2 separate regions of the Homo sapiens genome follow, and region 1 is linked to region 2. Evidence: promoter capture Hi-C in 16 types of primary human blood cells and fetal thymus (Javierre and others, 2016). All regions are on one chromosome and are shown on one strand. The core of a region is centred on a gene start or on the middle of the fragment in contact, and the rest is flanking DNA. Distances in the headings are between cores, read along the strand shown. Region 1 overlaps SHROOM3 (shroom family member 3). Region 2 holds the start of CCNI (cyclin I).

Region 1 (3,817 bases), core at 782-3,281, 560 kb after region 2:
CAAAATTTACAGAATTGATTGAAGTCACTGAAGTTAAATGCACCCTCTGAACATTTAGGAGTAAACTGGGGCCTCTTGGTCAGCAAATGCTATCTTTTGGTCCATAGTTTCTATGACTACTCCCTGACCCCTAGAGATGCACTTTGTTTATCCAGCACCCTCCTTTCTAGGAAAGGCATCCCTCCTTTAAGGGAATAGCCCTCCCGTCTACAGTCAGTGATTCTAAGGTTTTCCCAACCATAGTGTTTCACTGGCCACCCAGGTGGGCATGTGGCCTAAGCCTAACCAACCAGAAGCCTTTGCTGGGATTTCTTCACTTACAACCAGAGAGTAGCTCTCAGTTCTCTTCCAAGGGCAAGGCTATGCCGCATCTTGAGGCTTCACCAGCTGTGTACCCAGACTGTGGTGTGAATGAAGAAAACAAGCAGAGAGAGGCAGTGTTAGGAGAAGGAGACTCCTAGCTCCATTCTTGTTCCACTTCCAGTGATCTCTAGGGTATGTAATCTCTATGCCCTTGCGCTTTTTGTACTGGTTCAATAAATATCTTCTTTTTGCTTCATTGAGTTTACATCGCTTGCAATAAAAAGAATTTTAATACAGCCCTCAAGAGTTTGCTTCCCTGACCTGTATCAGTATTTATGTTTTCTAGGCAAATGAGAGAGTACACAGGAACAGGCTTGGGTGCCTGGCCCCAGATGTGTTACAGTACTCATTTAGAAATATGTTAGATAAGCTCCGTAGAACCCTACCAAATGTGAACAGCCATTTTTGATTCTTTGAAATCATTCAGATTATTTAACACAGGCAGGCAGGCAGGCAGGCAAGCAGGCAAGAAGGAAGGAAGGAAGGAAGAAGGTAGGAAGGAAGGAAGGTAGGAAGGAAGGAAAGAAGGAAGGAAGGAAGGCAGGCAGGCAGACAGGCAAAAAGGAAGGAGGGGGGAGGGGAAAGAAAATGAAATAAAACCCTGTCCATTAATGAGAACACTCTGTTTTTGCCTCTGTCTTTCAAAGACATGGGGAAAATGATCTCATTCAACCACAACAAAGATTTATGGAGTGCATATTAGGTGCCAGATGCTGATATGGAGTGGAGGACACTACGAATGAATAAATGTAGTCCCTGCTCTTGGGGGGTTAAATGCCTAAAGAATTATAGAGGTTTGAACCTCCCCAAAATGTCTGTCTTTCCCCCTATTTATCAGAAGTTGAGATAATTTGATATTTTATATGATTCTTAAGAGTCAAGCTCTCACCCTCCACTAGGAATACACACACACATACACACACACAACCAAAATAATCATCTTGCAATTTCTGAGGGTTGACAGATATTTCCTTATAACTTAAATAAATCTCTCATTTTAAAAGCTGTCCCTCTGGACTAAAAAAAATCTGATTTAGAAACTTTACCACAGTCAATTCATATCATTTACTTTGTAAGGAAAAAGTCTTCATGTTCCTCTTCTATATGCAGCCCTTGCTCTGCTGCAGCCGCAATATCCCGGTGAGGCTACCGGGAGGTCATTCAATCCACTTCCTTTCCACGGGGAATGGCTGGGAAGCTTTGGTTAAATGAGTGGTCCAAGGTCACATGGTAACAAATTCTGGCCCAGAGTCCTAATCTGAAAACCCTAGTCTTTTCCTCTCTCTGCTAGCATACACAGGCCCTCATTGGTCTGAGAATTAGCAGAACAGAACCCATATTGTTGAAGAAATTTTCAAATAATCAGCCACTGACTACAGCCCTAACATCCCCTTTATATATATATATATATATACCAAACAAACAAACAAAAACCCTAAGCAACTCAATCAGGAGAAATTCTTTTTAAGTTTCATTTACATGGATAAGAATCCTAAATCTTACCTATCTAGCACATCATGTCAAAAAACTACAAGTTAACCAAGCAAGAATTCTGTGAAACTACCTGGTCAGACCAGCAGAGCTGAGAACAGTGCCCTGGGCATGCAGGGTTAGGGATGTTCTGTATTTGGGATGCCCTGTACTTGCGATGCAGTGTTACCACCTGGGATAGGGAGGAAGTGAGCCTTTTTTAGACACTGTATCTTTGATAGTCCAGGTGATTTGCCTACACCCATCCAATGCCAACTGCATGTAAACTGGGGTGACTTGTTAGTTCCTGGATGACAAGGGTATGACCCAAGATGGGCAGACACACGGACTCTTTCTCACCAGGGCCTCTGGCAGACATTTTCCATGTATCAAAGCTCAAAGCAAAGTTCTTTTACAGCAAAGAAGACCAAGCAGTTGTCACTGAGAAGAAACCTGATTGCTCTCCTTGCAATGATCCTTTCAGCACTAAATATCTAATCCCATTGTAAGACTGAGAAAGTCACCAAGTGTGTTGTATTGCAGCAGGAAATCTATTTGAAGACAGTTTTAATAACAAGATAAATAGAAGTTCCAAAGGGTAGGAAAGGATTTCCTTAAGTGAGAACATAAATAACTCATCATTAAAATCTGGGTATGATGGAAGCTTGGCTGAAAGCAAGACTCTGGATTGGCTAGCTCAGAGGGAGTTCTCAAACCTCCCTGTAAAACTTTTTCACAGATTTCCTGTTCATGAGACTTGGGGTGGGATTGGAGGTAGCAGCTATAATTTATGAAAGGATCCAGGATCAGAAACTTAGAAAATCAGATCTGGAGACCCAACTTAAGTGTAGTTATTGGCTAGACTGTCCTCAGGGACTGCCCTGGTGATGTACACCAGGACTTTGTGTTTCTGTAATGTGCTTATTGCATAATATCTATTAGCTGGTGATTTTGGTTCCTTTTTTTTTTCTAAATCATGCTCCTGTTTTCATATATTATGAGCAAAGTGCTGTTATCTGAGAGTATCAGCTGACTCAGACCATTCAGTTCAGGGATTCCTCTAGGCTCCTGAGTAGGGGCTTAGATAGGGCAAATTCTGATGGTCTTACAAGGGAACCCCAGTCCTTCATGTCATAAGAGCATCTCTGCCTATAGCTTCATCTGATCTCAACACAGAGAACTAATAAGGTAGGGACATGGCATGATTTGGACTTCAGGAATATTACTTTCCTAGTTGGAAGGATGGATAATAGGAGCAATATTACAGTCTAGAAAACATGTTACAAAGATATTGCAATTGACCAGGCTAGAGAGAAAGAGGAACTGAACAGGAGAAATGACGGAGAAGAGATATACATTTGAGTAATAGTAGGAGGTAAAGTCAGTATCCTTGGTCATTCACTAACCATAGTGGGTGAAGGAGCAGAAAGACTCTGTGGTGACTTCAAAGAAGGATCACAACCCACTTTCCCTCTCGGTCTACTGCTAGTTTCACACACTAACCTGACTCCCAATCTCTCTCATTATCTTTGTGTTATTATGAAGTATCATTTCTGGTTATCAGACATGGCTTCCCATGTAATCATTTCCCATGCCAGGCCCTGTGTCAACAGTTGAGCTTTCTACCCACCTGGAGTTTGAGAACAGATCAAGACCAGCTTATGCCTAATATCTCAAATTAATTATTTACCTCATAAAGTAGTACCAGGCAAGTGAGACTGATAAGTCTGTCCTAGCTTAGAAGAAAGACCACCTACATGACTTCTCAACATGACTTTAAATAATAAAATTAAATTTGGCAATGGGAAGTCTACACCCAGACAAGTCTCGGCTTGAGTTTATATGGTTTTTAGACGTAAAATCCAACTCTGGTCACTGACTGATACTGCAAACCCAGAAACATTAACCAAGAAATATTTCATATCCTCTGCTCTATTGGAATAAAACCCAAGCCACTGAGGAGTTTAAGGGCAAAGGACAATTC
Region 2 (4,063 bases), core at 1,564-4,063:
TGCCAACATGACACTCAGAGGAAATGCTCATTTTGGATTTTCAGACTAGGTTGCTCAACCAGTAAGTATATAATTTAATGCAAACATTTCCAAAACTGAAAAAAAAGTTTAAAATTCAAAATACTTCTGGTCTCAAATATTTTGGATAATACTCAACCTAAATATTCACAGTTGCGCAACCATCAACACAATCAATCTCAGAACATTTTTCTCACCTCAAAAAGAAACCTTCAAAAAATCAGTTGGGCATGGAGGCATGCGCCTGTGGTTCCAGCTACACAGGAGGCTGAGGCAGGAGGATTGCTTGATCCTGGAGGTCAAGGCTACAGTGAGTCATGTTCACACCATTGCACTCCAGCCTGCAGCCTGGGGGACAGAGCAAGGCCCTGTTTCCAAAAAAAAAAAAAAGAAAAAAAGAAAAGAAAAAAAGAAAGAAACCCCCATATCATTTAACTATCATCCCCTAATCCCATGCCTGCCCCTAGCCCTAAGCAACCACTTCCTTACTTTCTGTCTCTATATATTTGCCTATTCTGGACATTCACGTAAGTGGAATCATATAATATGTGGTCTTTTGTGACTGGCTTCTTTCATTTAGCATACTGCTTTCAAAGGTTATGCATGTTATAGCATGTATTAGTATTTTCTTTTTATGGCCCAATAAGATTCCATTGTATAGGTCGGTGTGACGGCTCATGCCTGTAATCCCATCACTTTCAGGCTAAGGAGGGAGAATTGCTAGAGGCCAGGAGTTTGAGACCAGCCTGGACAACATAGGAAGTCTCATGGCACCCCCATCTGCGCCACGGAGCCAGACCCCATCTCTTAAAAATAAAAATTTGATTGTACATAGATGTATCACATTTGATTTATACAGGCGCCAGCTGATGAACATTTAGGTTGTTTCATCTTTGGCTATTATGAATAATGCTAACGTTTGTAAAAAAGTTTTTGCATGGACAAATATTTTCCTTTCTCTTGGGTATATATTTAGGAGTGGAATTTGCATTATTCTTATTGGAGTGAAAATCAGAAGCAATTTCATGGTCTAACAATGGAATTATGTTACACTCTCAATAGTATTATGCAGAAATGCTACAGTCTCAAGAGTAACATGCAGAAAAATGGTGGCTTTTTTGAATGAAGACCATATAATAATAGGCTACATGAAGTGAAAAAAAGAAAAAAAAAGGATACAACCCACTTGAAATCCTCCTAGGGCTTCCCATTCCTTCTTCTGTTCTATGGCATCTGTCCTCTGCTTCCACATCCTGCCTCAGTTGTCTGAGGGCCAGCCACACTAGCTTTCAGAGATTTTTAGAACGTCTCAGCTTCGGAGCCTTTTCACATAACTTCCTCTGCTTGTATCATTCTTTGCCCAGTGGTTTCAAGTCTCATCTTAAATGTCACTTCTTCAGAAAAACCTTCTCTGATATCCCAAACCAGGCGGAAAGGCAAGCGTTTCCACAGCAGCCGGCGATTTTCCATCTTAACGGTTTTAATACCAGAATTGTTTACTTGGTCAAATATTGAGAGCCTTTTATACACAGGGATAGAGGGTGAAACATGCAAGATCCCTGCCGCCTGCGACCTTATATTCTAGGGAGGGGATACATGCACAAGTAAACAAGTAAATGTACTTGGTAATTTTACATAGTGATAATTAGCTCAATGGTTATCCTCTGTTTGGACTGTAAACTCCATGAAGGCAGGAGCTATGTCTGTCTTGGCTACTTCCAGTTTGCTGAGTCTGGCCACTAAATAAACTCAACACATATTTTTTCACTGACAGTTAAAATAACTATATAAAAAACAAATGGAAAAAACAAACGAGACTTCTATAAATGGTTGAGATCTAGCTCTTCCTCTTTCAAAACTCTGTAATACTACATATTTTTAAATAATTAAAACAATCAAAATAGCAAAAAGTTACCGTTTGTACTAACAGAACCCCAAATAAAACCCATTTATGTCACCACACATTCTTTAAGCACCTGGTAATAAAACCTATTCGGAAATACTCAGACGTGTTGGTTGAGTGGATAAAATCCCCTTGCCACATTGCCAAGCAGGTTCCTCGCCGTCAGCAGTATAATTTACAGTGTTTCACTGAGGCCTTAAGCACCCATGATTTGATTCTCCCTAATTTTCCGATTCCTAAAACCCTTTAGAATCTCCCTCCACCCACACAATGTGGCAGTGAGAAAAACCGCAATTCTATTTACATGTCAACGGTAAGAACACGTAATACTTTGCTAGGTCAACAAATCTGCAAGATCTCCACCCAAGAGATCAGTAGCCCCTTCCCAGTGAATCCTTCTAAGAGCCTGGGGACGAGTAGGGCTAGATAAAACCAAGCTGCTGTAAAGCTGGACCACAGGAGCGGATCGTGAAATCCCCTCCCCCAAGCGCAGCGCTCGGCCGCTTCTTTCTTCCCCAGGCGCATGCGCAGCGCACTCTCCGGCCACCGCACGCCCCCTCAGTGGGGGCCCAGAGACGCTGACGTCACCGTGCGGTCTGCAAGCAACCCTTCCGCTCCTTCAAGGAAAATGAGTCCACGGACCTTCGGCTTTTCTTAGCCACGAGAAAACGTCCTCCCTCCTTCCATCCTAGTGCCAACGACTTCCCCAGCCCGTCTCCTTTCGGCCGCACTTCTCTGTACTTTCGTTGGACCGGGAAGGCGGCGGGGAGGAACAGGAAGGGTGAAAGACCAAGTCCGCGTAGTTTACAAGGAGTGGGCGAGTCTAGGAATCGGTCCGCGAGGGCGGAGCCGAGGAAGCCGGCACTTCTTCCTCCCTTCCCCTCTCTTCCCCTCCCTCCCCAGCCTTCCCCGCGAGCGGACGCGGCAGCGCCTCTGTCTCGCTTTTTCTTATTTTTCCCCCCTTTCCCCTTTCTTTTTTTTTTTTTCTTTTCTTTTCTCCCCTCCCCCCCTTTCACCATTTCCCCTCGGAGGCGCTTTCCCCGGGCAGGGGCAGAGCCGGTCTCACCCCCCGCCTCTCCCCGGCCCCCGCCGCCCTATGGCGAGAGGGAGCCCCCTCCCAACCCGGGCTCGAGCGGCGGCGGCCTCAGGCCGGGGGTCATCATGGAACTAATTCGCTGACCGACCCAGCGGCCGCAGCCGTGCGTCCCGCTCGAGCGCCAGCGCCCGCGCCCGCGCCCCCCGATCCGCTTCCCCTTTCTCCCTCCTCAGTTGGCCGAGTCGTCCCGCGCGCACCGCCTCCGCGCGCCTATGAGAATGAGGTGGTAACGGGCCCCCGGATGACCCCGCGTCACCACTGTGAGGCCTACAGCTCTGCCGGGGAGGAGGAGGAGGAGGAAGAGGAGGAGAAGGTGAGGGGCGGGGGCGGGGGCGGGGGCTCGACGCGTCTCCGCGGCCGGCGTCGACGCGCTGGGGCCCCGCTGCTCCCCCCGCGCCGCCCCCGTGGCAGCGCCCTTGGCCGCGCGCTGCTCGCCGGAGACCCACCCTCCCGCATCCCCCAGCCCGGGGAACCTCGGGGCCGCCCTCTTCGTCCTCTCCGGCCCAGACAGACCCGTCACCTGCCCACTTGAAAACGGCACTACTGTGTTCCTTTTCGGGCCAGTTTTTCTGTCAGCGAGTAACTTTTTTTTGTGGCAGCGGCAAATTAGCTACTCTATAGTGCGTGTTGGAGGCTCTACGAGCCCGTGTTAATACACAAAGAAGGGGACACACCCCCACCCTCAGGTTGAACGATTCTCCGGGGACACCAGGAGGATTACTAACTTTGCACGGCAGACTGAATGCCAAATGAATGGGGTGAACCTCCGGTGCTGTGAAATTCGGGGGAGGGCAACGTTACCCAGGGCTTGGGGCGGGTGGGTGGGGGGAATCCGGGGGAGGTGAGATTTGAGTTGTGCTCTAAAGGCTAGATTAAATAACTGGAATTTGAAAGGAGGACAGAGGAGCCTCCGCTGGAGCTAGGGGGCTCCGTTACAGATCCTTTTGGCAGAAGTTGACAATTGGGTATCAAAACAGTGGAAGGTGTTTCGGGAGGTAGGATGGATTCAGACTCTGAAGGGGTTTGAACTAAAATGTTTATGTTTT

The links. Contacts are between HindIII fragments. The CHiCAGO score rates a contact against its expected background, and 5 or more counts as called.
Region 1: a contact is called between a fragment that was not itself captured here and the fragment with the promoter of CCNI in region 2, in 3 of 17 cell types (M1 macrophages, M0 macrophages and M2 macrophages). The highest score is 6.3, in M1 macrophages.

The regions. Positions count from the first base shown.
Region 1 is chr4:76,515,582-76,519,398 of GRCh38, reverse strand. The region is part of intron 1 of SHROOM3 (shroom family member 3); the gene reads right to left. Among named protein-coding and RNA genes, the nearest start is that of MIR4450, 56 kb to the left of the region's middle. The HindIII fragment of the contact is 936 bases long and covers 1,564-2,499 here.
Region 2 is chr4:77,074,739-77,078,801 of GRCh38, reverse strand. It overlaps CCNI (cyclin I), which reads left to right and starts at 2,813. Exons shown (of 7, transcript NM_006835.3): 1 at 2,813-3,330. RefSeq lists enhancers at 1,647-2,617, 2,516-2,745 and silencers at 2,926-3,275, 3,336-3,485. The HindIII fragment of the contact is 6,616 bases long and covers 1-4,063 here.